2 separate regions of the Homo sapiens genome follow, and region 2 is linked to region 1. The links are contacts of gene promoters, found by promoter capture Hi-C in human tissues and cell types (Jung and others, 2019). All regions are on one chromosome and are shown on one strand. Each heading gives the region's core, a stretch centred on a gene start or on the middle of the fragment in contact. The rest is flanking DNA. Distances are from core to core; before and after follow the strand shown.

Region 1 (7,271 bases), core at 1,470-3,969:
ATCTTCCCTTGCTGTCTGAGTGTGGGTCGGGTTGAGACCCTGCCTGCTCTCCTGGCAGCTGAGGCTAGGCCTAAGCAGGAGAGGCAGAGACGGCTGGCCCCTGGGTTCTTGCATCCAAAGCCACCCTGCCCTCCCAGGGCACCAAGGCTCCGGCGCTGTCCATGGTGGAGACTCCAGACAAAGACGTCCCATTCAACTCCGCTGACCAGGAAATCCCACGGGGCAGCCGGCCAAAGTCTCCACCTCTCAGGGAGGCAGGTCTTTGGGGATCAGGAGCCAAGTGAGCATCGTTAGCATTCTCGGACACCCCTCAGGTGGCGTGGGTCCCGTGCCAGAGGAAATGCAAACGGCCAGCCTGCTGGGATGAATCTCTTTATCACTCTTCAAGGTGGCACCTCCATTTCCTCTAGACTGGGGAACCCCCCACCCCACCTAGCATGGGACGCCCCTCCAGGTCTCTAAAAAGGAAAGGTGTAGGCATTTTAAATTGTTCTGATGGAGAGCACTTTCTGTGGGGCTCAGGGAGGGGCTGGAAAGTCAAGGTCGGCAGGGGGATCCTTCCCAGAGCAAGATGGAGCTGTCGGGCATCTTCCCATGGCACCCAAAGTGCCACAGGTGGAGGAAGGAGGAGGGGTGCCTGCAGCAGGTGTTTCCAGGTCTCCCATGATGGATGCTGTTTAGGCATTTCAGCACCTCCACTCCAGTGGGGTGGAAGGGGCTTTCCATGCACCTGGTGTCATCCACGGCAGCCCCCTCCTCCCATCACCGATAGGAAGTGGCCCTGCCTTGTGAGAAGAGGTCCCAGATGCTACAGGCTTACCTTGGAGCCTCAGAAGACTGGATCTAGCGTCATGGCAAGGGTGAGTGGGCTTACTTAGGGCAGAGGATGCAGACTCATTCTACGACACGCAGCTGTCGGCTGACATTCCCCAGCAGGGCTGGGCTGGCAGGCTGGAACCAGGCATTAGGAGGCGCTGAGATGAATGTGGGAAGGGGCCGTGCACCGGATTCCAGCCCCTGAGCCTGGTCCAGGCTTGGCACTCCCCAGCTCCCCAACCATGTCTGAGGTTGAGCAAGGGGCTGCCTCCACCTGTGCAGCTCCCTGGGCACCTCCCCACAAACCTGCTGTCCTGGGTGTGCAACATGCACAGCCGTGCAGAGGCCTGCTGCACCTTCTGATCCCTTAACACAGGCGGACAGACGGACCCAAGGCTGTTCCATGACAGCCCCCCTTTATAACGCGTAGCTCACACCTCCTGAGGGCTTTCTGATCATGAGCATCAATGTACATGTGACCGATCCCGTTAGAGGCTGACGCGCACAGAAGCATCTCACTTAACACCTCATTGCGCAGAGGAGAGAATGGGGTCACAGGCGGGTGGGGGACCATGCAGAGAGCCAGGTTTAACTGCTGTTTCTGTGCTTATTCCCACCTCAGCACAGATCAGAGGAACACGTGGAGATCTATGTGGCTATGTGCACGCGCACATCTACACACATACATACACATCTACACACTCACACACATCTACACACATACATACACTCACACACAACTACACACACATCTACACACATACACACACATCTACACTCATACACATCTACACACACTCACACACATCTACACACGTACACACACACATCTACACACACATCTACACACATACACATCTACACACATACATACACACATCTACACACATACACTCACACACCTACACTCATACACACATACACTCACACACACATCTACACATGTACACTCACACACCTACACACATACACATCTACACACACTCACACACACATCGACACACACACATCTACACACATATCTACACACATACACACATCTACACACATACACACACACACAGCTACACACACATCTACACATACACACACATCTACACACATACTCACACAACTACACACACATCCACACACATACATACACTCACACACAACTACACACACCTACACATACACACATCTACACACACACATCTACACACATACACACAAACCTACACACATACACACATCTACACACAGACACATCTGCACACATACACACGCATCTACCCAATACACACAGACACACTACACACATACACACACATCTACACACACACACATCTGCACACATACACACATCACACACTCACACACATCTGCACACATACACACACATCTACACACATACACACAAACCTACACACATACACACATCTACACACAGACACATCTGCACACATACACACGCATCTACACAATACACACAGACACATCTACACACATACACACACATCTACACACATACACACATCTGCACACATACACACATCTACACACATACACTCACACACATCTGCACACATACACACACATCTACACACATACACACACACCTGCACACATACACACATCTACACACATACACACACATATCTGCACACATACACACACACAGGCACCCATGTGCACACACCACACCCTCTTGTACACATATACATACACAGCTGTGCACTCACATGCACACAGGCTCATGCACATACTTCTCTCTCACACACAGTGCTCACTCTACCCAAGGTCCCAGCTCCGTGCACACGCACCCTGATGCCTGTGTGACGCTGCTCCTGCCCCTTCTCCCCCAGGCCGTGTCCTCCTCATTTGGATCTCCCCTCCAGCGGGGCCTCCTCGGAGGAGCCAAGGGATGAAGGTGCTGAGGGCCTGGCTCCTGTGCCTGCTGATGCTGGGCCTGGCCCTGCGGGGAGCTGCAAGTCGTACCCATCGGCACTCCATGGAGATCCGCAGTGAGTGCCTGGACCCCTGTCAGCCTCCCTTACCCCACCCTGCCTCACCCCAGAACCTAGTGCAGCCTGGTCGCTCGAGAACCTGGCAGGAACGGGGTGCGCGGGAGGAAAGGGAAGTCAGTCTTGGTGCTTTTTTGAACTCCTGCTTCCCAAAGCCAGCCCACGCCCAGAAATGGCCTCGCCAGAACCTCTGGGTGCCTGTTCCTCGGGTGGCTCCCAGCATGGCCTGGCGACTGGGCTGAGAGGCCCTGCCTGTGCACTCTGCCCCGCTGCCTCTGGGAGCACAGCACACCCTGGGGACACGTGCCCATGGTCTGCTCCAGCTCTTTCCTTTCCAGCCCCTGACATCAATCCTGCCTGGTACGCCAGTCGCGGGATCAGGCCTGTGGGCCGCTTCGGTCGGAGGAGGGCAACCCTGGGGGACGTCCCCAAGCCTGGCCTGCGACCCCGGCTGACCTGCTTCCCCCTGGAAGGCGGTGCTATGTCGTCCCAGGATGGCTGACAGCCAGCTTGTCAAGAAACTCACTCTGGAGCCTCCCCCACCCCACCCTCTCCTCTCCTTCGGGCTCCTTTCCCTTCAATCCTAATAAAAGCTCTGGTCTTCAGTTACACATTCACGACTGTGTGGTGGTGACTCTGAAGTTGTTCCCTCCTGGGACATTAGACTAGAAAGAACCTCAGAGCCCAGCAACTTCTTTGGAAGAAAAGGCTTTGTGACTTGGCAGAGGGCACTTGGCACTGAGTTGGGGCGCTGGGTCTACCCTTGGTCACCGGCAGCCCACAGCCACCCCCACACCCAAGCTGCCCTGAGTGGCTGCCCAGGCTGTCCACTGCAGAAGGCCAGGAGGTGCCACGCGTCATACTCTGCAGGACACTGTCCCCATAGGACGGTAGCACAGCCCCCAGCCTGAGCCCTGGGCAGCCCCTCAACTTCAGTCCTTTTTATTTAGACTATTTTTCAGAGCAGCTTTAGGTTCACAGCAAAATTGAGTAGAAGGTACAGAAAGTTCCCATCCACCCCCTTCCCCCACATCCGCACAGCCTCCCCCATGATCAACACCCCCACCGAGGGTGCTTTTGTCCCAGTCGAGGAACCCACACTGACACATCCCCATCCCCAACCAGCGTATGTCAGAGCCCACTCTCCACGCTGTGCGTCCTGTGGGTTTGCACAAATGTACAACAACACGATGTGGCATCACGCAGAGTCGTTTAACTGTCCTAGAAGTCCTCTGGGCTCCCCCTACTCATCCCTGCACCCCGCAACCCCTACAACTGCTAGTCCTCTCATTGCAGTCTGTCTTGCCTCCCTCTTACTCAGGGAAGATGCATCATGGATTGTTTCTGACCCATGGCAGGGAGACTTGAACCTAGATTGCTCCCACGCCACGTGCGTCCCTTTCAAATCACACGGGGATGTCTCCACATCCTGCCTCAGGTGTAGCTTAGGTTGGCATTGGGGGCACACTTGCACCACCTGGGAGACTGAGTTCATCCCGTGAATCACTGAGCCTCAGTTTCCACAACTGCATGCCACAGAACAGCAACGCTTACCTCATTCCTCAGCTCCGTGGGCGTGGCACCTGCACGCCTGCCGGCACAGGGTGGGTGCTCTGTGAGTGCAAGCCCCTTCCCCAAGGCCCATCCTCCACCCAGCCATGTAACAGGCTTCACCAGCTCCCTCCAACCCAAAGCTTGGCCTGGACTCTTGCTGGACCCTGCCTGCAGATGCTGATCTCAGGAGCCCATCCTGACCACAGCCCTCTTGGCCATCCATGCTCAGAGGGGCCAGTGGCAAGGCCCAGACCACCTACACGGGGCTGAGTTGGGGTGACTGCACCTCCCCAGCTACAGGGGAGCCCCTCCAGCCCTGAGCCACCTCGCCAGGGTAGAGTGAGCCTGCAGGAACAGGAAGGGGGGCAAGGTCTGTTCCGAAGGCAGCAGGGGCTGGGTCAGGCCTTAAAGAGGCCACAGCCCTCAAAAAGTTAAACACGGAGTTATCAAACGACCCAACAATTCGCCCCAGGTGTAGACCCTGGAGAACTGAGGGCAGGTGCTCAGCACATCACAGCAGCGTTTACAGCAGCACCCTTCCAAGTAGCCAAAGGGTGGACATGACCTGAATGCCCATTGCCTTAGTCAGTTCGGGCTGCTCTAATAAGATAGCATAGGCACAGAGGCTCAGCCAGTAAACACTCACTCCTCACAGTTCTGGGGGCAGGAAGTCCAAGATCAAGGTGCTGGCTGATCCGACACCTTGATCCGACACCATCTTCCTGGTTGACAGACACCGTCTTCTCGTTGTATCCTCACATGGCAGAGAGCAGAAACAGGAAGCAAGCTCTCTAGCCTCTTCTTATGAGGGCACTAATTTCATCCATGAGGGTTCCACCTTCATGACCTAATCTCCTCCCAAAGACCCGATCTCCTAATACCACCATAATGGGGGGAGGATTTCAACATATAAATTTGCAGTGGCGGGGACACAAACATTTCATAACACCCATCAACAGAAGAATAGAAAAACACAGCGTGGTCTATCCATGCAATGGAATATTACTCAGCCAGGAAAAGGAATGGACCACTGATACATGCCACAACACGGATGAACCTTGGAAGCATCATGCTAAGTGAAAGAAGCCAGGCACAAGAATTCAAATGTTGTATGATTCTGTTTATATAAAAACGTTGTATGACATTGCATATTCTATGGAAGCAGATTCATGGCTGTCAGGGGATAGGGAAGAGGGGTGGGGGGATGACTGCTTAATGGATATGGGGGTTCCCTTTTGGAGGTGGTGAAACGTCTTAGAACTGGACCACGGCAGTGGCTGAAGAACAGAGTGAATGTACTAGAAGCATATTTTCAGCATCCTTCTCCCACGAATAAGGCCAGTCTCCTACATAGCCATAAAATCATCATACCTGAACAAACCGTTGTAGTAATTTCACAATATCATCTAGTTTTTAGTCTGTACTCAGAAATCCCCACATGCAGCAAGACAGTCTCCTTTTTCCCCCACCGGGCTCCAATCTGCATTCACAGTCCGTTGTTTCTCTTTGATTTCCGACCAGTTAATTTTTTATGTTGTCCTGGTGTTGAATTTTTCAAGCACCCAGATGAGTCGTCTTGGAAAATGCTCCACCTGTGTGATTTGTAAGTTGTTCCCCCAAGGTGATGTCCCTGTTCTTCCGTTCCCTGTACTTCCTGTCATCAGAGAGGGGCATCCAGGATCTTGCCTGGATTCAGGTCGCGCACTGTGGACCCAAAAACTGTGTCCTTCCCACTGCATCATATCTGACCATGGGATCCTGGGCTCCCTCTCTGACAGTGCTATTTGACCCTGTGGTAGAGACAGATCTCTTCATTGTAAGAGGTTTTTTCCCTGTGTGATCAATGTGAAATCTGTGCTGGGGCCAGGGCCCCATGGCCAAATCCTGTTTCCCAGCCAGCTTGCGGCCTGAGATGTCAGTGTCCCCTGACTACCCATGCCAGGCTCAGCTGCTGCACCACCAGTCACCCCCACACCATGGTGATTCTCTAATTCCTTCCACAGTCATTAGTTGGATTCTTCCAGAGAAGATATTTCTTTTTTTCTTTTTTTTCAGAACTTTATAATTTTTGACACTCGAATTGGCCTAAATTTGGCCAGTGGGAGTCCTAAACAGGGAATAAATTTTAAAAAAATTAAAAAGAATAGTTCTGTGAGTCAGCCACTCTGGGAAACGCAGACCCATCAGAAGAATGGGATGGGAACATACTCAAGAGGAAACAAGACAGGGCGGGCACGGTGGCTCACACCTGTAATCCCAGTACTTTGGGATGCCGAGATGGGCGGATCACTTGAGGTCAGGAGTTCGAGACCAGCCTGGTGAAGCCCCATCTCTACTAAAAATGCAAAAATTAGCCAGGTGTGGTGGCGGGCGCCTGTAGTGCCAGCTACTTGGGACTGAAGCAAGAGAATCACTTGAACTTAGGAGGCAGAGTCTGCAGTGAGCTGAGATCCCATCACTGCACTACAGCCTGGGTGACAAGAGCAAAACTCTGTCTCAAAACAAAAAAAAAAAAAAAGAGAAAGAGAGAGAGAAGAAAAGGTTAGCATCACAGGCTGGGATGGCAGGGGCTCCCAGGGCCACTCATCAACATTGCCATGCCTCCGGCATCCACCACCACCCCCCACAGGCAAACAACAGCTCACGAGAAGACCCAGGTCCGAACTCAGGCTAAGCAGGGCTGGAGCTGCTTCCCCAGCAGCAGCCTGGACAGTGGGTACATGGACCAGCTTCTCCCAGGATCTGGGGCCAGTGGGGTCCTGGACCCATTTATCCTGAATCATCTGCGACACAAATGTCTGCAGCCCTGCTGGGGCCTCTCCCTGTGTGCTTGCAGAAATAGGGCCTTCCTGCCTGCTGCCCCACCCCAGCCCCGTTTCGGGACAGGAAGATAAGGTG
Region 2 (7,271 bases), core at 2,386-4,885, 170 kb after region 1:
GCCAGGCTGGTCTCGAACTCCTGACCTCAGGTGATCTGCGCACCTCGGCCTCCCAAAATGCTGGGATTACAGGCATGAGCCATGGCACCCGGCTGGATGCGACATTTTAAAAATGTATACTCAAGACACGTAAAGATGGCCTTCAGGGCATTTGCACTCTGTGGATAAGGGCTCTCCAGTGGACGGGTGGCAGCAGGCTGTCACACTCCACCCACCTTTCTGGCACCCCAGGGCTGAGCTATAGCCCGCAGGCGGGCTGGGCTGAAGAAAGATTGAAAATTTTGCAATAAATGGAATTTTAGTTACCCAAGGAGATAAGACAAGGAGTTTACTGACAACGCAGTGTGAAACTCAGTAATTACGAATCGTGCTAGGGATATGAGATTGTGAAAAGCAGTACTAGATACACCCCTGGCATCACCAAGACACAAACACTGAAGGTGAAAATACAGCTTAGAATCTCCAGTTGTTAAGAATCTCTGCTGTACTGTTTGTGCCTCGCGTCTTTAGATAAACTAGCGTTCCTGGGCTCCTAGTGTTGGCTCGGTTGTGCTGTTCCATGTTCGCCTTTTGAATGGGATGGGGGTGCTTTTGGAGTCGTAAGGAAGTGCTTGTCACTTAAACGTGTTTTCTTCTTTGGTGCTCAGAATTCCAGCTACAGCGGTGACAGCAGATTCTCTACTTTGTCATCATCCAGGGAGGAGAAGTTGGTTGGTTTCCATTTAAATCTTTCACATTCTCTTCAGAAACCGCAGATTTTGTAGCATGCAATCTTGTGTGTGTGGATTCAGCTCTACTTTTCTCTTTCGGTGTCTGTTTGACGGATTTTTGTTTGGGTAGCTGTGTTATTGACGTGAAAAGCAGCAGTTAACATGAGCTCCTTCATTCAGATGTACTCCAGTGTGCTGCGTTTGACCACACCAGCTCGAATGTGAATTGTGGCATTCAGCTGGCTGCAATGAAAGGACGTGTTTTTGTGTATATTTTCTAATTAGAATTAATCAAAAGGAAAAAAATAATTAGAAGAATGCTCTTGAATTCTTGAGAGTTTCTGAAAACAGAACTACTTTGAAGAGTACATGCAAACTTTGTGGTGGTTTCTTGGGCATGGACTAGACTTGGAAGGAAAATCCAGAGTCTCATCCAAATCCACATGTTTACACAACAGAGTTCCTTCCCATTCTCTACAAACATGCATCGGTCTTGATAAACATAATTTCTAAATTGTTTAAGAGCCCTAAAATTGCTAAGGCTTGTTGGTGTTTGTTTAGGTTCACATTTACTCAGCAAAATTGGGACTAGTTTAGGTAGGAAAATCAAGCAGGCCCTGGGATCACAAAGCTAAGCAGAGGAGGTGGGTGCTCTCCAGGCACTGACATCTAGAACAGAAGCCACCGGCACCGGAGACCAGTACAGGAGTGAACAGATGAGTAGATAGAATGGGAGGGAGACACTGGTTTTGCCAGGAAAAAAGATGTGAGCTGAACCTTAATAAATAGGAAGGGCCAGGTGTGGTGGCTCACACCTATAAATCCCAGCACTTCGGGAGGCCGAGGTGGGCAGACCATGAGGTCAGGAGATAGAGACCATCCTGGCTAACACGATGAAACCCCGTCTCTACTAAAAATATAAAAAATTAGCTAGGTGCGGTGGCACATGCCTGTAGTCCCAGCTACTCGGGGGGCTGAGGCAGGAGAATCGCTTGAACCCAGGAAGCAGAGGTTGCAGTGAGCCAAGATTGCACCACTGCACTCCAGCCTGGGCGACAGAGTGAGATTCCATCTCAGACAAACAAACAAACAAACAAACAAACAAATAGAACAAATGAAAAGAATAGGAACTAACCAGGTAGAGCCTAGAGGGGAAGCTCTTCAAGGTAAGTAGCCATTTGAGCAGAGCAGAGGCCGCGCAGAATGGGCAGAACCCAGGAGAGGTGCCATGTGGCTGAGCACAGGGTGCTGTTGGAGCTGTTCCGTGAACCTGGTGACTCCAGTAGCAGCTCCCACGCTGAAATCAGAAAATGAAATCTATGCAATTCCTCTGCGATTTCCTTTAGCCACTCCCATGTATCATTGACCTCATTAAAATGCTTCTAGAAGAAATAGCTCTGACCCTTCCCCGCCCTGTCCCCAATTTCCAGCCCCTATTCTCGTTTCCCTCCCGGGGGGTTGGGGGGTATCTTTTTCTTGCCAGGGCACTTCTTCCTCACCTCTTCACCCCTTGTCCAACCCCTTCATGTCCAGGGAGACTGCAGAAGGTGCTGGCAGCTCCATGGCGCCCACTGCTTGCCACCTTTCTCAACCCTTCCCATAGTCCCCCAGTCTGTAATAAATCCCCCCACTGTAAGCTGATGGCCCTTCTGTCCCCCAATATGTGAATTTTGACTCAGTATATGATCAGCTGTGAACACCAAAGCATCGGTGGGTTTAACACCTTGAAAAAGGCTTTGGGCATTTTCTTAATTCAAGAGATTTTGCTGTTGCAGAGGGCACTTAGTCATTAAGAAAACTTCATTTCCAACTCATTTTCGATAAGCTGAGTTACTTGCTCTAAAATAAAAGATGGCAATAAATATCTCATCTTTGGATATGAACGATTCACCCAAGTTCAGCCTGCATCTGACTCACTTCAGTCCATTTAAGAGAAATAACCCACATCCAAAGGGTTAAACATCAGAATGAGAGCTGACTCATTCAAACAGGGCCACATGTGAACTCGCCCTGAGCCCTGTGTGCCCGTGATTTGCTGCCCGAGGGCTCTTGTACTCACCCACCCTCAGAACCTTCCTGGAAATTGTGCTCTGTAGACATCTATTGCTGCCCAGTACGTGGTGCGTTTAATTTTATTTAAATATAATAATGGAAAGGTATCAGTGTAGAATGTAGTATTGATGACTCTTCCTAATATCAATTAAAATTTATTTCAATATTTAATATCAACTAAAATTAAATATTTTTTTCTGTGCGTGAACTCAAAAGTCCTAATTTGGCCCCATCTCCTAGTTTTGTCAGTTGCCTGGCCCAGCCGTCTTTATTTCCTTCTGACCCTCGTTCTCTCCCTCCCCCGTGAGTGCATGCCTGTTACTGTTTTGGTTGTATAAGGTAATCGTCTCTGAACTCACTGGACTGATGTACCTTTGCGATGCCGTGAGGGTGTGAGCCTCTCTCTCCTCTCTGCTGCCCATTTGCTCTGATTACAGGGACTCTCCGGCTCCAGCCTTGGGCTTGCCGGTGGTGGCCTGGCTCCCACACCCCTGTCTGCCCCAAATGGAAGCTGGGTCTGTCTCCTTTTCACATCACTTTGTCGCTCCTTCCCTTTCCTTCTGTGCATCACTTTAATTGCTGATTACATTTAGTGGATAGTTCAGCCTCCTCTACACAAAGTCACAAGAGCAAAGCTTAGCAACTGTTTTAATTGGCTTGACTAGTTTGCTAAGACTTTTGTCAATCTTTTAGAAAAACCATGTCAAATAAGTTAGAACCTATATAGAAAAGGAGACTTAAGGAAAAGGAGGGTTTTATTAAATGCATATTTTCAAAAACTCGAGTCCAAAAAATTGGTCTCTTGGGTCTCTCCTCCTTTTCCAGCAATTGTTCCCCATTTGGGGTTTCATTTGTTTTTTTAAAAATATTTTTTCTCTTGTAAATGTGTCCAGGAAGCAATTTGGAAGGTTTTTGTGCCTAATCTGCCTCCTTGGTCCCTGAGAAGTGGACAGAACAGTGTTATTCCTTTGGCTGGGTCTCCCCGCTGTTTCCTGTTTTTACAAGGTCAGGTTCAGGTCCGGCCCTGAGGTGCTTGGCCTGTTAGCTATAGGTATCGAGTCTTATTCTAATCCAAGGAAGTCGGTGTCAGAGGTGAAAGTACACGTCCTATTTGGAGGTTGAACTGTCCCTCTCCCTTGCATGTCGACTGGAGCTGCTGAGTGATCACCGCCTGGCCGTGCACCTTGCCTGACTTGCTCAGTGTGCCCTGGAAATGAGTCCAGATTCTGTCCCGTGGCACAGTCTCTGGACACTGGGAGCTGCCCTTGTGTCCCAGCCTGTCCCTTCACCAGCACTGCCTCCCCCTGACGTGTGTGCTAGGCAGGATTCTCCTTTGACAGGGCTAGACCGCGGCTCCTCTGGGGGTGCCTCCCACACCAGCTGAGGCAGCCTTGCAGTGACTCCCTTTGTGTCTTGAAGACTGTCGCTGGGCCCCTGGCATAGAAATAAAGACTCTTCCTGCTCCTGTCTTCATGTGTGGACATCTGCGTATTGAATACTGCCAAGTGTGTCGTTAACCTTGGATTTGAGCTGTGGGTTTTGTTGCTGTTGTTGTGTTGACCTTGTCACCATTCTGTCTCATCCCCTGACCCTTTCTTCCAGGAATGCCTGAAATGACTAGAAATGATCGTGTTTTAAAGATGCTGGGAAGTTTACTGTTTTAAAGTTAAAAATCATCTCAGTTATCTTTCTTGTAAATTTTGGATTTGCATCTATCAAATTTGCAGAAAACACGGTGCCTCGATCGGTTTGTTTCTGTTTAACCACTGTACAGCAGTTGGCTATGGTGAATGCTGAAACTATCGTGATGGCCTTTTGCTGTCATTTGTTGCTGTTTTTTCAAGGCTTTTAAAACCTGCCATTTGCTTTCATCCTCCAGCCCTCCTGTCTGTACAGCGCTGCCCGGCCTTCGGGGAGTTACCGGGTGCGTGTGCTGCCCACCCTGCTGCCCCGCACCCCCTCCCACTGTGCATGCACCGCCCCCACCAAGCCCAGAGCCGGGGATGTGCCTGTTCCCAGCCCCCTGGGGGAAGTTGCACCTTCACGTGGAGCTTACATGTGCCAGTGGGGAATGTCTGTCCCCTTTGGCCAGATCTGGGTTTTCTCTCCCCCGATTGTTGACTGTAGCTGCCACACTGCTCTGTCTCCAGGAAGCCTTGTGTTTGCTGGGATCGTTAGGCAGGAATGGAACAACAGCAATGTTTACTTTACCTATTGGCAGAAAGAATGGTGGCTTTTTAATGCTTTGGTAACCTGGACAGATACTAATCCATGTTACTATATTACTTTGGAAATTTCCAGTTTTAAATATAAGTACTTATGCTATGCAAGAAACGTAAAGTAAATACTCAAAGTAGCTATATTGTCTTGTTAATAACCTTTTTTTTTTTTTTTTTTTTTTTTGGAGACAGAATCTCCCTCTGTCACCCAGGCTGGAGTGCAAGGGCACGATCTCGGCTCAGTGCAACCTACGCCTCCCAGGTTCAAGTGAGTCTCCTGCCTCAGCCTCCTGGGTAGCTGGGATTACAGGCACGTGTCACCACACCCAGTTACTTTTTGTGTTTTCAGTAGAGACGGGTTTCACCACGTTGGCCAGGCTGGTCTCAAACTCCCGACCTCAGGTGATCTGCCTGCCTCGGCCTCCCAGAGTGCTAGGATTACAGGCATGAGCCACCACACCCAGCCATTAATAACTTTCTGAATTTCCATCAGATTGCATACTTATGTGTTTGATATATTAATAAATGGCTGAGCAAACTAGTATGTCCTCAAGGGAAAATAGGGAAATTAAAGTTCCTTTATACCGGGCAAAGTTTGACATCACCATTTGTGGCAGTGTAAGCTCCTGTTTACCCACGTTGATTAATTAAGTAGCATTTTCCAGTTAACCAATTACTCTTTCTTCTACTTAGCAACTTTTAAAGGGTTATAAAATATTTAACATTAAAACTATAATTAACATAATTTGATATTTTATCCCAAAGTCACTTCACATAAGAGTAATTTTCTAAGCATCAAGTATGAGAATGCCATGACAAAATTCAGGATGTTCGAATTATCTGCTCATTTTAACCTGGATTAACAAGTTTTCACTTAGGCCTGGGATGTTTTCCAAAGTAATAGATTTAAATGGTCTGTTGGAGATTACATTGCACACCTCCTGACAACGACTAAAACCGGTCTCTCCTCATTTCCTTGTCGCACTCTGCAACCCTTTGAAGAGCTGGAAAGGTGGTTCTCAGCCTCCCCTGCATGCTTTTTCAGGTCATGCTCCTGGCACGTGTCAGTTTTTCACAGCTCACGTTTTCAGCACTTTCTGGGCACTCTTGGAGAAAGGAAGAGCGCCCATCCTGACAGTCTCTTTTGGTCGCAGGCGTCTGTGTTGGATGAAGGCAGCTTCGGTGGGACCCGACGGGGCAGCACCTCCGGCTCCCGTGCTGTAAGGCGCTTTCGGTGATACCTCCTTTCCCCCGTGCCTGCTGCATGGCCTGGGGATGCTCGCTGGGCAGGGTCCAGCCGTGGGGGGTGACTGGCCATTCTCAGGAGGAAGCGCCGAGTCACCGGGCTAACCGCCACCTTCCATTGTAATGAAGGTCACAAATAATGTGAATCAGGAAACCTCTGGTTGTTGGTTTCATGTCCTCACTCATCAGGGAGAGTAACTTGCACTGAGTTTCATCTGCTCTCTCTGCAGCACGCCAACCATACTAACAGGTGGTGAAACCGTCTTCGGTTAATAAAAACGGGAAAAGGACAACTTGACAGACCACACATCATTCTCGTCCCTGGATAGTTGAGGAAGAGGAACAAATTTTAAAACTTGGAATGTTACGCATATTTCATTCCCTGTTTGTATTTTGTTGTCTCTCTACCTCTTTCTTCAATTTGAAATGATAGGCTCAGCTATGAGGGTAAAGATGTAATAGGTGCACCATAAACATTTGTGAATGAATGCGTGAGAAAAGCAACAAGGTAGAAAAATGAGATGGAACCCGTGGAAGTGGGGAGACGAATTTGCGTGTCCCAGGGACCTGTGGAAACGGAGCGTTCAGTGCTAACCGGTGCTCCCTGGCGGTGGATCTCCTGTATTCAGAGGCTCCTCCCCAATCCTATAAAAATGTCTTCAAGCCCTCCAGGAAATAGAAAGGTTTACTAAGAAATACTTGAAATGCTTTTATAATTTTGCTTTTGAAGTTTATCAGCTACTTACTTGACTAAATCCAGTTTTATGACTTACTATGCTATTTGTCCAGCCATCATGGATATTCATGAATTCTTATGGTGTAAGCCAGTCTAACCTACAGTTTTCTTTAAAATGTAATTTATGAATATTAAATCCAGTAGTTGACATAGCATTCGTTTTTGTCGACAACTGATTACACATTTATCAACTTTTATATTACATAAGTTGTTCAGTATTTTGCAGCCCACTATATAACATATTTTTCCCAGTTGGTAAACATTTTCATAGGCCATTAGAAAGCTCATAAACCATGCATGAAGAATGAA

Evidence for each region. Contacts are between HindIII fragments. The study calls those that stand out against the background at their distance.
Region 2: a fragment that was not itself captured here is called in contact with the fragment with the promoter of PRLH in region 1 in 1 of the 25 tissues and cell types used here (ovary).

Annotation. Positions count from the first base shown.
Region 1 is chr2:237,563,855-237,571,125 of GRCh38, forward strand. It overlaps PRLH (prolactin releasing hormone), which reads left to right and starts at 2,720. Exons shown (of 2, transcript NM_015893.1): 1 at 2,720-2,819; 2 at 3,158-3,321. The coding sequence starts at 2,720. The coding sequence ends at 3,321. RefSeq lists an enhancer at 1-69. The HindIII fragment of the contact is 10,563 bases long and covers 1-7,271 here.
Region 2 is chr2:237,729,133-237,736,403 of GRCh38, forward strand. It overlaps LRRFIP1 (LRR binding FLII interacting protein 1), which reads left to right. Exons shown (of 24, transcript NM_001137550.2): 9 at 4,642-4,686; 10 at 6,136-6,201. Among named protein-coding and RNA genes, the nearest start is that of RBM44, 66 kb to the right of the region's middle. The HindIII fragment of the contact is 4,390 bases long and covers 1,441-5,830 here.